Linked DNA regions of Homo sapiens: regions 1, 3, 4 and 5 are each linked to region 2. The links are contacts of gene promoters, found by promoter capture Hi-C in blood cells and fetal thymus (Javierre and others, 2016). All regions are on one chromosome and are shown on one strand. The core of a region is centred on a gene start or on the middle of the fragment in contact, and the rest is flanking DNA. Distances in the headings are between cores, read along the strand shown. Region 1 overlaps LINC02641 (long intergenic non-protein coding RNA 2641). Region 2 holds the start of C10orf88 (chromosome 10 open reading frame 88). Region 3 overlaps PLEKHA1 (pleckstrin homology domain containing A1). Region 4 overlaps PLEKHA1 (pleckstrin homology domain containing A1). Region 5 overlaps PLEKHA1 (pleckstrin homology domain containing A1).

Evidence for each region. The method cuts DNA at HindIII sites, captures the fragments that hold promoters and counts their contacts. A CHiCAGO score of 5 or more calls a contact.
Region 1: a fragment that was not itself captured here is called in contact with the fragment with the promoter of C10orf88 in region 2 in 1 of 17 cell types (total B cells); the score reaches 5.8 in total B cells.
Region 3: a contact is called between a fragment that was not itself captured here and the fragment with the promoter of C10orf88 in region 2, in 1 of 17 cell types (naive CD4 T cells). The highest score is 5.2, in naive CD4 T cells.
Region 4: a contact is called between a fragment that was not itself captured here and the fragment with the promoter of C10orf88 in region 2, in 3 of 17 cell types (total B cells, naive CD4 T cells and total CD8 T cells). The highest score is 5.9, in total B cells.
Region 5: a contact is called between a fragment that was not itself captured here and the fragment with the promoter of C10orf88 in region 2, in 1 of 17 cell types (total B cells). The highest score is 6.6, in total B cells.

The regions. Positions count from the first base shown.
Region 1 is chr10:123,545,183-123,547,882 of GRCh38, reverse strand. The region is part of intron 9 of LINC02641 (long intergenic non-protein coding RNA 2641); the gene reads right to left. The region is part of intron 1 of LOC105378530 (a long non-coding RNA gene); the gene reads left to right. Among named protein-coding and RNA genes, the nearest start is that of GPR26, 120 kb to the left of the region's middle. The HindIII fragment of the contact is 5,244 bases long and covers 1-2,700 here.
Region 2 is chr10:122,952,916-122,955,615 of GRCh38, reverse strand. C10orf88 (chromosome 10 open reading frame 88) reads left to right here and starts at 1,389. Exons shown (of 6, transcript NM_024942.4): 1 at 1,389-1,601; 2 at 2,584-2,700. The coding sequence starts at 1,438. It overlaps LOC124902519 (a long non-coding RNA gene), which reads right to left and starts at 1,174. Exons shown (of 2, transcript XR_007062325.1): 1 at 1,048-1,174. RefSeq lists a silencer at 1,594-1,673. The HindIII fragment of the contact is 5,860 bases long and covers 1-2,700 here.
Region 3 is chr10:122,395,912-122,398,611 of GRCh38, reverse strand. It overlaps PLEKHA1 (pleckstrin homology domain containing A1), which reads right to left. Exons shown (of 12, transcript NM_001001974.4): 3 at 638-694. Among named protein-coding and RNA genes, the nearest start is that of MIR3941, 20 kb to the left of the region's middle. The HindIII fragment of the contact is 1,484 bases long and covers 658-2,141 here.
Region 4 is chr10:122,413,227-122,415,926 of GRCh38, reverse strand. It overlaps PLEKHA1 (pleckstrin homology domain containing A1), which reads right to left. Exons shown (of 12, transcript NM_001001974.4): 7 at 1-68. Among named protein-coding and RNA genes, the nearest start is that of MIR3941, 2.4 kb to the left of the region's middle. The HindIII fragment of the contact is 740 bases long and covers 1,012-1,751 here.
Region 5 is chr10:122,378,253-122,380,952 of GRCh38, reverse strand. The region is part of intron 1 of PLEKHA1 (pleckstrin homology domain containing A1); the gene reads right to left. Among named protein-coding and RNA genes, the nearest start is that of PLEKHA1, 4.9 kb to the right of the region's middle. The HindIII fragment of the contact is 2,432 bases long and covers 234-2,665 here.

The sequences.
Region 1 (2,700 bases), core at 201-2,700, 590 kb before region 2:
AATGCTCAAGTTTAATAAATGGAGGGCTTGTCACCATGCAAAGGAGGCTGTGAGATCCTGGCAAAATAATTACTGGAGAATTTGTGGGAGGCAGCAACATACGGATGCTCAAAAGCACTTTGAGCCTCCTTTTTCTGAGTCCTCCCTGGGAGGTGCTGGTAGAAACGGCTATCAGCAAACATGATCTTTGCACCATGGCCAACGTGGGGTTAAGTCAGTCTGCTCAGTCTTCCATCTCCCCTCCTCCGGGTTTTTCTTACTCTCGCTCACACCCACCCCCAACCACTCCTGCTTTCTCTTCCAGGGCAAGTTTAATAAGCTAGTATCAAAACCATCTAGGCTTGGAGCTTTCAAAGATTTAAGACTTTTAAATGTGAAGCACCTCATTATATCCGACTATTTTCAATAAAAAAGACCTGATAAGTCATTGATATGACACCCGTTATCAGTGGGATTTGTTTGACGTCGATTTGAAATGTGCACTGCTTGCTTTTGGGGGTAATGGAATCAAACACTTAGGAGCTGCACGGTGCAAGTAGATCACTTTTCAAGTAAGAACATTAACATGGAGAGAGACTTTGTTTGGGGGTTTATAAAAATAAAGCAGTATTGTACAGTATGGCATATAGCAGTGGCTACATGGACAATTGACTTCCTTCCTATTAATCAACTACAATGTTTACCTTCTTACTCCAACCATTTCCAAACCATTAAAACTAAGAGGATTAGCATCGCATTTCTGCCAAGGTGTATTTTTATTTCAGCAAATACTACTTTCGCTCTCGGAGGAGATTAAAAGCCTGAAAGAAACGGTTTCTTTATCTGGCATACTGTGTCATACAGGTAAAAAAAAAAAAAAAAAAAATCCTGTTAAAAGAATACAGTGTCCTTGTCCAGAGAAAGCTGATTGTGAAAAGAGTTAAATTTCTGGACAAACAACATAAATTGTGAAGAATAATCCAATGTCAGGACTGAGTATTTCTTGCCCTGTAAACAGTGCTTATGAAAGCATCATTTAGGAACCAGCAGAGAAGTGGTTACCTTCCCTGTGGTTAGGGTTGCTGAGCCATGTTTCTAAGGGAGCTTTTAAAAATATGTAAACCCTGGAGTTGAAATAGGATGAGTTCCATTTATGTAGATTTGCCTACTTACATTATTCCTGAGATGTTCAAGACATATTGTTTTCTACCTCCTTCTTTTTAAAAATCTGTTAATTTTTAATAAACCTATATTAGTCCATTTTTATGCTGCTGATAAAGACATACCCGAGACTGCAATTTACAAAAGACAGAGTTTTTTTTTAATCTTACAGTTCCGCATGGCTGGGGAGGCCTCACAATCATGGCAGAAAGCAAGGAGGAGCAAGTCCCATCTTACGTGGATGGCAGCAGGCAAAAAAGAGAGAGCTTGCACAGGGCAGCTCCCGTTTTTAAAACCATCAGATCTCATGAGACCCATTCACTATCACAAGAACAGCACAGGAAAGACCCACCCCATAATTCAATCATCTCCCACCTGTTTCCTCCCACAACACATGGGAATTATGGGAGCTACAAAATGAGATTTGGGTGGGGACACAGAGCCAAACCATATCAAAACCCAACTTGCAAAATTTACCATTGCATCATTTGCACTGCCAAAAGCGCCCTTTAAAATTGTGTGTTCTCTCTGTCTTAAGTTTGTTGTTGCACAGTTTATAGTTATCTTAAAGGTCTGCACAAGTGGTTTTTGCAAAGTGTGCTCTCTGGACCAGCAGAATAAATATCATCTGGGAATCACCACAAATGTAAAATCCAAAGCCCGATTCTAAAGCTGAATCAGAAACTTGGGACAGGGCCCGGGAATCCCGCCTGGGAATTCTGGAGTTTAAGAACCACTGATCTAGGGCTAATTAATTCTCTCTGCTATAGTCTGAATTGTGTCCCCTCAGCATTCACATGTTGAAGCCCTACTCCCTAATATAACTATATTTGGAGACAGGATCTTTAAAGGTGAGGTGAAAATTAAACTGAGGTGAAGTGAGGTCATAAGGATGGGGCCCTAACCCATTAGGACTGATATTCTTATAAGAGGGAGAGACACGAGGGATGCATGCATACTGAGAAAAGGTCATGCAAGGATACAGGAAGAAGATGGCCTTCTGCAAGCCAAGAAGAGAGACCTTAGGAGAAACCAAGCCTGCTGACACCTTGATCTTGGAATTCTAGTACTCAGAACTCTGAGAAAATAAATATCTCTTTTCTACGGCATCCAGCCTGTGGTGTTTTGTATGGCAGCCCTGGAAAACTAACATAATCTCCTATGTCAAAGAGTGAGGCCTAGAGAGAGGTATTAACTTGCCAAAAGTCACATATTCTGTTAGTAACAGAGCCTAGGCTAAAATCAGTAAAGAGTGAATCAGAAATAAAATGCAGGCAAGTCTCACTCCAACAAGGTAATGTAAACACTAATGTGCAAAAAAAAAAAAATTTAAGTTTAGAAAGAGAATGATATGATTTGTTGGTGTCCCCACCCAAATCTCATCTTGAATTACAGCTCCCATAATTCTTAGTAGTAGTTAATGGAATCATGAAGGTGGATCTTTCCCGTGCTGTTCTTGTGATAGTAAGTAAGTCTCATGAGATCTGATGGTTTTATAAAGTGAAGTTCCCCTGCACATGCTCTTTTGCCTGACACCGTGTAAGACGTGACTTTGCTCCT
Region 2 (2,700 bases), core at 140-2,639:
TGCAAACGAGGACTTTACAATTCTGCTATGATAGACCTTTGGTGACATTTCTCTCTTTCAATCTTGGTGAATTCACCTACCATACGTACATTCTGGTGATTACTTATAGAAAAATACATTTGGTCATCATTTTTCTTGCTTTGACACAGGTAAACAGAATGCAAAGTTTATTCTCATTTTTAGCTAGAGGGCACAAGTCCTAGTACATAAACTCAAACGAAAACATAAGCAAAAAGATTAAAGTAATGCGCACTGAGTCATGAACCCAGAATAGACAGCTCTGAAAGAAAATTAGAGTATGGGTGAGCAAAAACGTTATTTCCTAGAGAGGATACCACCTTAAACACAACTTTGGAACTCTAGATTATAGACAAGTGGAATTTCAGAGTTTGCTTTTTTCAAAAGACAGAAAAATAATCTGCACAAGCCTCTACAGGAGGAGGATGAGGGGGCACACTATATACAGTCCCATCCCGTGGGGCATCTAGAAAGTTCCATCTGCTCCCACTGTTCTGCATCCGTAGCCTTAAGTTCCTTCAAGACTGAGTTCATATTCTACTTCAACAGAGTTCTGAGACCCCCCCTTTCCACTCGCTGTTTCCAGTGCCATGAGGAGCGATCTCATGGGGCAGCCCCTGCCTTCGGTGTCTGGGTCTTTCTTGCATTTCAAATTTCTGTCACCTAGAGCGTCCAGCCCTGGATGCCCGGGTTCCTGCGGCCTGAGGGTTGCACATGGGGTCAGGGGGCGTCAGCTGAGACAGCACCCGGCGAAGGCCAGCGTGGCTCAATGCCCATCACAGATGCCCTTCAACCCCAAAACCCCATCATCCGCTTCAGCCCCCCTCTAAAGCGAGAATATGTGTGAGGGAGGCTAGGAGAATTCGAAGTAAAAATAACCCGAATCGGCAGCGCGTCCGCCGCGCTAGCTGCCACAAATGCTGCAGATCCGACGGAATGGAAGCAGAAAAGGCCCTGGCGTCCCCTTGGGAAAGAACGAGGTCAGGAGTCGGTCTTGCACGCAGCGTAGAGCGACGAGACTACACCTACCTGATCACAGACGTTCCACACCAGCTCAGCAACGGTCGTCCACGCCGCTTGCTGTTTCCCCACAGCCAACGTCGAAAACACCCTCGTGCCGGCGCGCAGTGCACCGCGCCTGCGCATAGTCTCCAGCGAAAGAGCAAGGGTCTGCCAGTGCGCATGCTCCGCTCTCGACCTCCTCCCCGCACACTTTGAACGCCGCGCCTGAGGCCAGCTGGCACATGCGCATGCGTGTCTCTGGTGCCTGCTCTCCCCACCAAAGCAAGAAGCGGCGGGTACTTGAAGCGGAGTGAGCCGGAAGTCGCTTTGCCTGCCCATTTCCACGCTGTACCGGCGGAAATTCAAGCACTGGAAGAGAGGTTCCGGGGCTGGGCTGGCCTGACTGAAGGCGGCGGAATGGAGACGCGGACCGAGGACGGGGGCCTCACCCGCCGCCCCACGCTGGCCTCTTCTTGGGATGTTGCAGGCGGGGCCCTGACCCACAGCCTCCTCCTCACCCGGGCCGGTCTCGGCCCCGGTGACTTCGACTGGGAGGAGCTGCTGGCACCGCCTGCTCCAGGGTGCGCCGGGCCGACGGGGACGGGGTCGCTATGCTCGGCAACTGCCGCGCTTCTAGGGGAGCTGTGAGGGGAGGCGAGAGGGTCTGAGCCCGGGATCCGGGAGAGCAGTTGGTACCAGGTCTCTAGTTGGGGAGGGGAGCTGCGAGGTCGTCCGGGGTGGGCGGAGGGGGGTGGGTCCGGCCGGGAAGGGGCCGAGGCTCCTGGGCGTGAGAGGGGGAAGGTGACCCGGACTCGGAATTTCATATAACGTCCCCATCAGGCGTGATAGCCCCTCAGGGCTGCTGTCAAAGTCAGTCCGCCCCTCTACCCTCAAACAAGACACCTCCTGTCCACCAAAACAGGCTGTGTAAAAAGTCCAGCTATAGATGATCGCTGTCGACTTAATTTCGAAAAAGATACACTTTTGTCTTTCATTGTGCCCTGCACCCAGTAGGTGCCCAGTGATTTATGTAATTATCCGAGAGTCAATTGCAGGGGATTGAGTAGAATGTTGATTGAGGAAAAAATAGAGTTTGGGAAAGCCCTGATGTGTGACACCTTCATTTCCGTATGAATTCTGTGTTGAGCGCTTCTTGGATGCTTGGGAAGGTGCTTGGACCTCAAGGGCAAGTGGAAGTGAGTTAGAAGAAAGAAGCCCCGGCCGGGCACGGTGGCTCACACCTGTAATCCCAGCACTTTGGGAGGCCGAGGCGGGCGGATCACGACGTCAGGAGATCAAGACCATCCTGGCTAACACGGCGAAACCCCGTCTCTACGAAAAATACAAAAAATTAGCCGGGCGCGGTGGCGGGTGCCTGTAGTCCCAGCTGCTTGGGAGGCTGAGGCAGGAGAATGGCGTGAACCCGGAAGGCGGAGCGTGCAGTGAGCCGAGATGGAGCCACTGCATTCCAGCCTGGGCGACAGAGCCAGACTCCGTCTCAAAAAAGAAGAGTCATGTTCAGAGAACTATACTGTGTGATGTTTTCACCAATTTTCTTCTCAGTCAGGATCTGGTGATTTTGAAGAGAAACCACAACAACAAAGATGAAAACCCCTGCTTCCTTTACCTGAGGTGTGGCCCTGATGGAGGTGAAGAAATCGCTTCTATTGGCATTTTAAG
Region 3 (2,700 bases), core at 150-2,649, 560 kb after region 2:
CACACACACACACACACAAACCCATAGGGTTAGCACCTCAGCATCACTTAGTTCCCTAAACATTAATAGAAGAAAATAAGAAAAAAATGTACCTGACAAACATAAAATCAAAATTTTAAAAAATAAAAAATAGTATTGCAAAATTACCAGAAAAACAAATAAGAAAACAGAAATGAAAAGAGACAAAGTGAAAAGAGGGGGAAAATCATCCTTTCAACATGAAAATGGTCCATATTTTCCTCAAAATAAAACATTAAGAAACAAAGTATCAAAGACAATGGGATTTAAAAGTTGAAAACAGTCTAAATAAACATAATACAGACTTAGAAAAATCTCCAGACTTTCTCAAGATAGAATTTGTTTCACTGATTTCTCCCTTTCTGATGTTCATATACCTGATCATAAAAGTTAATGTTAACTTTTGCAATTTGCCACATCCTGTAAGTTAAAATCATATTCTTCATAACTGTATCGATTTAAAGAATTTCCTAAACGTAGTAATCAGGTACCATTTCAGTATGATAGGAATCTGAACATCACTGTTAAAGGACATGGAAAGGAAACTGCTGCTTCTATTCATACTCTCATTCACAGGGATTTTAATTCACACGAGTATAAGACAATGTATAAAGACTACCTTTGAAATGTAGGTAAGCTTAATGGCTCCAACACGTGATGATCCAGAAGGTAGGTTCTAGAAACAAAGTATTAATATATACTTAATATCCAATATTATGAATTCATTTTATAATATAATGTTCCACATATACTTCTGAAAAGTTAAAAACTCAATTTTTTAATATCACATTTTACAAATGAACTTTTCTTCTGTTCAAATTTTTACTAGGTCTGAAATCAAGTCCATAGCTTGGATAACAAAACTGAATCCTACTCTGTTCCATTATCATGCATTCTATGACTAAAAGGCTATTTTTATCACTGGAGCTAAACTAATACTTTCTCATGAGCTTAAAAAGCCATGAACAAGATCAGATTTTGTTCCTGAAAGCAAGGGGGAAATATTTACAGGCAGAAAACAAATATAATTGTAAGATACTTAAAAAGACTATACATATTACTTTGTTCTATTAAAATTTCTTTATCAAGTATCTCTTGACAAAAATGGACTGCATTTCCCCCCATTTAAATGGTTTACTGTTTTTTATGCCATATTAATCTACATTGATACTTTTTTTTCCACAAAAAAATGTTTGCTTCTCTTTATCATATGCAGGGAATGTAGGCACTTTCACACACAGTATTTTCATTCTTCCCGTAAGTTTCAGATGTGGTTTGCATCAAAAGAGCTAAAGGTAAACATAGAGGGAGAATCATCTCTGGTTGAAGCTATCCAGAAAGACTGAAGTGATGAACAACATTTAGGCTGGAGGTTAAGGAAAATTTTGAAACACAAAAAGCAGGGGAGAATATTCCAAGCAGAGAAAATGGACAAACTATAGCAAACAATGGAAGATGCACAGCTCTGTACTAGAAAGAGAGAGGGGGGCTATGTGGGGCTGTAATGCAGTGTCCTGTAAGATTGTAGTACAAAATGGTGGTCTGAAAACTTGAACTGAGAACCTAATCATAGAGGACCTAAATAAAAAAGTAGCAAAGAATTTATATCGTAGAGAATTTGAGGCCAACGAAGAAGGCTTATGAGCAGATCTGGAATCAAAATTATGCTCTTTTTATAATATATCTTATAATAAACTGAAGGGATTATAGAAGAGGAAGATAGAGGTAGGAAAACCAGACAAAAGAATCTGGGGAAAACAAATCAAGAATATAAATTTCATTTCTATGATAGAAGACTGATAAAAGACTGATAGAAGATTTCAGAAGTAAAAATGAAAACATTAGTTTTAGTTGATTTTGAAAATTATTTCTGCTGGAGATAAGACAGGATCAACTTTTCAACTGACTTTATAATAACGTACTTAAAAATATAAAAATCTATTGGCTTGTTCTAATGAATGATTAGGAGGTAACTGGAAGCCTAGACATTTCAAAGACTTAAGAGTCCCAAACATGAACTGCTTATTGTTGACAGGGACAGATCTTTTAAAAACTTTCACACCTATATATTGTAAAACTCCATTAATTATGTTCTGCTTTAAACTATATACTACGTACAAGCTTCCAAATATAAATCATCAATAGTAAATATGCATATAAAATAAAATTATAATTCATTAATGTATAACATTAAAAAGCTATTTGTATTCTTATGTATAACGTTTTAGATTTATGGGTTTTTGGTTTTTAACTTTAAAGAAGGAAAAGAAATGTAAATATGTCTTCAAGAATCTCTAACTACCACCAAAGTGATTTTTTCAAAAACTGTTACCCTTCCATTTAAGGGTAATAATTTATTTCTTTTCAGTTTTTCATGAGCCTATTATTTTAACTGCTGAATAGAGCTCTAAGCCTTTGTGGAAGGAAGACAAATGAGAAACCAAAGCATGACATAAAGTGTCACAGTAATAGTAGTACACTATGGGGAAATTTAAGTAGCTGAGAGAAAAACAATATTCAAAATACGCAGTTTCTGTGGACTAGTATGATTACCATCAGGTTCGACTGGAAAAAAATGAGATTCAAAATTTGTTACTTGACAATGAACAAGAAATAACAAACTAATAGAACATTTAAGAAAAAAAGGGAAATAGGCCATTTGTTGATTATGAGTTCCTAAAC
Region 4 (2,700 bases), core at 132-2,631, 540 kb after region 2:
AGATGGCTTTGTGACCGTTTCAGATTATTTCTGTCAATACTTTCACCACATTCATTTACTTCTTCTTTCTAAAATGAAGCAAAATAAATAAATTATTTTCTTGCTTGTTTAGCATACTTTTATTTCATATTATCCCAGTAGAAAATCTTAAAATCCACCTTAGATTAGTCAGAAACAGATTTTTGAAGAGTTTTCTAATTAATCTGAGATACTTACTCTTAATTTTCCTGTCACTGATTAAAGCACAAATTTCCATTCCTCTTGTTTTGCACAAGTCCTGCCACCAGTGCTCTTTTTTGGGGAAGGAGTTAACTTTTTATTTTGAAATAATTATAAGGATTCACCAGAAGCTGCCCAAAAAAAGTACAACAGGTCCTATGTACCCTTTCACTAGTTTCCCCTCAAAGGGAAACGGCGTAACATTATCAAAAAACAAGAAATGGACATTGGCACAACCCACAAACTTTATTCGGATTCCACCAGTTTTACATACATTCATCTATGTGTGTCTATACAGTTCTATGCAGTTTTATCACATGTGTAGATCTGTGTAACTACTACCACATTTAAGACCCAGAATTGGTCATCACCCCAAGGCTCCTTTGTGAACTTTAGAGTTCCTACCCCTAAATCCCCTGGCAGCCACTAATCTGTTCTCCAAGACTATAATTTTGACATTTTGAAAATGTAATGTAAATGGAAGCATACAGAAGGTTATCTTTTGAGATTATCTTTTTTCACTCAGCATAATTCTCTAGAGATTCGTCCAGACTGTTCCTTGTATCTAGAGTTCATTCCTTTTTATTGCTATATTTCCATGGTATGGATGGATGACCAGTTGTTTAACTGTTCACCCATTAAAGGACATTTGAGTTGTTTCCCACTTTTAGCTATTAGGAAAAAAGCTGCTATCAACATTCATGCACAAGTTTTTATGTGAATGTAATTTTCCCTTTCTCTACGATAAACACCTAGTCCTGCAAATGCTGGGTTGTACAGTAATCACAAGCTTACTTTTATTATTAAAAAAAAAACAAAACATAAACACTAAACTGTTTTTCAGAGTGGCTAATTTTCATTCCCACCAGCAACACCTGAGAGATTATGTTTCTCCTCAACCTTGGCAGCATTTGTGTCGTCACTTTTATTTCAGCCATTCTGAGAGGTGTGCAGTGATCTTTTATTGTGCTCTTAATTTGTATTTTTTCCCTGCTAGCTAATGATGGTGAACATCTTTTCATGTGCTTACTTACCATCTGTTTATCTTTTATCTTTTGATGAAATATCTGTTCATGAATTTTCTAATTGGATTTCTTGGGCTTTTTACTGTTGGGTTCTGAGTTCTTTCTATGTTCTAGATAAAAGTCCTTTGTTGGACATGTGGTTTGCAAATATTTTCTCCCAGTTTGTAGCTTTTCTTTTCATCCTCTTAAGAAGGTCTTTCATAGAGCAAGTATTTTTTATTTTGATGAGGTCCAATTTACCAATTTTTGCCTTTTATGATAGACATATATTATTTTATAATTTTTAAAACTATACTACAAAATAAATGATGCAATAAAATTATACCCTCCATAAAATCCTAGAAACTACTGAAATATCTATACCAAAATTACAATGCAACAAAATCTTAACTCTAGACAAAATTAAAACAGCCACAGATACAAACTAATACAGTGTCTTAACACAACTACAGGAAAATAGTCTTACCCCTTATGTCAACATAGGTCATAATACCAGTGAAAGAAGCTTAATCTAGGTACATAGTAACCAGAAGGTTAACAGTTTAAAATCATTACTTTTGGAAAAAGTAAACACACAATCCTAGCTTATTTTTTTATCCAACTTTGGTGGAAAATGTATGCTCTATGACAGCAGGGAATTTCTGTTCATTAACATACCCTTTGCCAAGCATAAAGAAAGCACTCAATAGTTAATTAATTAATTAATGTTGTAAGATTTCTAATCCCACTAATCACCCTCCCGTAGCAAAAGACCTGAAAAATGTGGGGAATGATACAATTTGATTTAAAAGATTTATAAAGTGTCAAAGTCTTTTGAGTTCAAAAGGCACACTGGTAATGAAAATACCCAAGCTTGGCAATACCAATTGATTACTTTAAAATTCTTGGTTTCTCAACTACTAGTAACTTAATATCCATTACAAATTCATCCTTTTCAATAGCAAAACAAGAAATTCAAGCTCAGACAAGAGTTTTAATTTCATCAAAAATTGTATGTAAATTTATATTTTTCCTAAAACTCAAATAAAGACTTAATTTAGCATATTAGTACTTCTGAGATATAACTTAGTTAAAATTCCAGTCTTCTGTTTAGCTCACTTAGGCCAGGTTGTAGAAAAAATAGATTTTAAAAATTACTACTTGCAAACTCTTGACTCAGCAATTTTATTTCTAGGAATTTCTCCTTTAAGAATATTCATCATAGCATTGTTTATAAAGTAAAAGAAACAAAAAGGAAAAGGAACTCTATTTGTCCAATAGAGGATTTGTAATTTATGGTAAATCCATGGAAGAACTACTATGCACTCATTAAAAATGATATAAAAGGATTTCTGATGACTTGGAAAATGTTCATGATACAAGTGAAAAAATCTGTTTACAAAATGTAATATACAACTCATATCTCCATTTCTGAGGTGAAAAGTACATGAAGAAAGGCTCAGAGAAATCATGAGAA
Region 5 (2,700 bases), core at 200-2,699, 570 kb after region 2:
GTCAAACTGGAGGAGTCTGGCTCTAGAGTCACACTCCTCAATACTATGTAATACCTCACTCTGCTCAAAACTCTTCAGTGCAATAGATGTCAACCTTGGCCACTTATCAGAATTACCTGGGAATTTTAAAAATTCCTGATGCCTACGTTAAAACACCACCTCCCCCACCACCGCCGACCAATTAAATCAGAAATTCTGGGATGGGATCCAGGCATCAGTACTTTTTTAAAGCTTCCCCAATCATTCTAATGTTCGGCCAAGGTTGACAACCTGTTTCAATGGGATCCCATCTCACTCAAAGTAAAAACCTAAAAACCAAAGCCCTCATAAAGACCACTAAGCCTCGTCTGCCCTGTTACCCCATCCCAATACCCACCTTACTCATTCATTTGGCCGCTGGACTCACCAGACAAGATTCCCACTCGGGGACTTGTAACTCAAAGTCACGTTCTCAGTGAACACTGCCTTTTAGATCTTATCTAAAATTGCAAATCCTCCAAACCGTTTTGCTACTTCCACCTTGGTTCCCCATGTTATTCTTCTCCTTAGCATTTATTGATTATCTAATGAATGATACAGTTTACTTATTTACCTGATTCTTGTCTGTTTCCCCACACTGTAATGTAGGCTCCATGACAGCAGGGATTTGTTATTTACTGTTGTTTCTCCAATGCCTAACACAGTGGCTGTCACATGCAAGACCCTCAGTAACTATTTGTTGAACGACGGATGAAGTAACCCATAATTACTGCATCAAAGATTAACGTTAAGTTTCCAGATAGAAAGTTGTTTCTTCCTCATCAGACAAGAATCATTTACCAGATTTAACTGATTTATTTAAATAATGGAAGGAAAAAGTTTCAAATACTGTATTTCCACTTAAATTTATATTTTTAGTGAAACTTACATGAGGCAAAACCAGACACAATTATATTATTAACATGCCTCCCAACCCAAATTTCTCCTTCAGCTTTACTCATACTCTAAGGTATAGTTAGATCTTACAAATCAGTCATAAATTAACATAATTACAGTTAACACCTCATCAGTCAGGAACCAGGAAGCCAAAAAATAAGGCAAAACACAGAAACAGCCTGAGTGATATAAGAAAAAGCAAAGAAAAATTAAATTCTGTACAGTGAGACCTCAACAGGCCCACAAGACTTCACTATTATTTGTTAAAACATGTCGAGTGGGACTAGTCCTGTTGCCCCACAATCACTGACAAACACAAAGCTGAGGATATATAGACATAGAGGATCAAATATCTGTAGAGTCAGGCATGGCTCTGGCACCCTAATCAGCACCATCCTTCCACTCTGCAAGAGCAGTTGACAGAAGAGAGGGAAAGAACTGTAAGTCTTCAGGGAGAACGCAGGGAAAAGAAGGAGGTCTTCACCAAAACAGTGGCAGGGGCCTCTAACAGAAATCACTCATGAAGATCAGAGGAGCCTAGAACAGACTTGCATCCCATTCTCCAGTTCCACATCTGCTTATGCAGCAGACTGAGTGACTGACCCCATGTGTCTACTTGAAAAGGGGGACAAAGAGAATTGATGAGAAATGGCAGGGCACAGAAAGAAGGCAGACTTAAGTAGTCTGTATGCCACTATTCGACATCACAAGGAAGTGAGTTTCCAGTGGGTTGAATAGAAACCACAGCGTACCTGGATTGAAGTTGTTTTGCCATTATCAAAATATCTCGCTGCAGAGAGAAAAGATCTCCACCCCGACTCACACACATTCACGTAACCAGTGGGTAAACTGACAGGATGGGAGCAAGCAGATGGGTGTGTAGGTTGGAAAAGGTTTAGCTACAGAAAATTTCATACCCAGAAACTGTGCAGCAGGAGTCTCCCTGCAAGATCTCACCAAAAATGCCAGTTTGGTTGCCTATTAGTAGACTGCAATGGCCTGCCACTGTTAATCAAGAGAGGACTCTAATAGCACCAGATAACAAACACTTGTCTTTTTCTACTTCTCTTCTTGACACATTTGTATCCAAATAGATCCCTTAAGAGGGAAAGGAAAGAAGTATCCCAGGAGCTTACCACAAGCCGTCCATACCCCAAGTGCTTCAGTAAGTAAGTGGCCTGACCACAGGGTAAGGAAGGGAAAAAAAACCTTTAAATTGAATATATATGAGATTGAATGTTCAAACTGGAATAGACTGCAATTTTTTGTTTTTGTTTTTCTGTTTTTTTTTTTTTTTTGGAGACAGGGTCTCACTCTCCTGTCACCCAGGCTGGAGTGCCACAGCACAGTCTCTGTTCACTGGAACCTCTGCCTCCCAGGCTCAAGGGATCCTCCTACAACAGCCTCCCAACTAGCTGGGACTACAGGCACATGCCACCACGCCCGGCTGATTTTTCTATTTTCTGTAGAGACAAGGTTTCGTCATGTTGCCCAGGCTGGTCTCAAACTCCTGGGCTCAAGCTATCCTCCCACCTCGGCTTTCTGAAGTGCTGGGATTACAGGCATGAGCCACTGAGCCCAGCCTAGAGCTTTTTGATAACTGTAAATGACAGAAAAGCTATCATTTACCCATGATGTTATGGGGGGTGGGGGACAGGGGGGTGGGAAAGAGCCTACAAAATACAGTTAAAGGCAGTGAATAGTGAAAATTAAAACTCATTAAAACTCTTGTGTTTGTTCTCAGTAAGCTTGGACTGCTGAATAACCTGATGACATATGCAATAG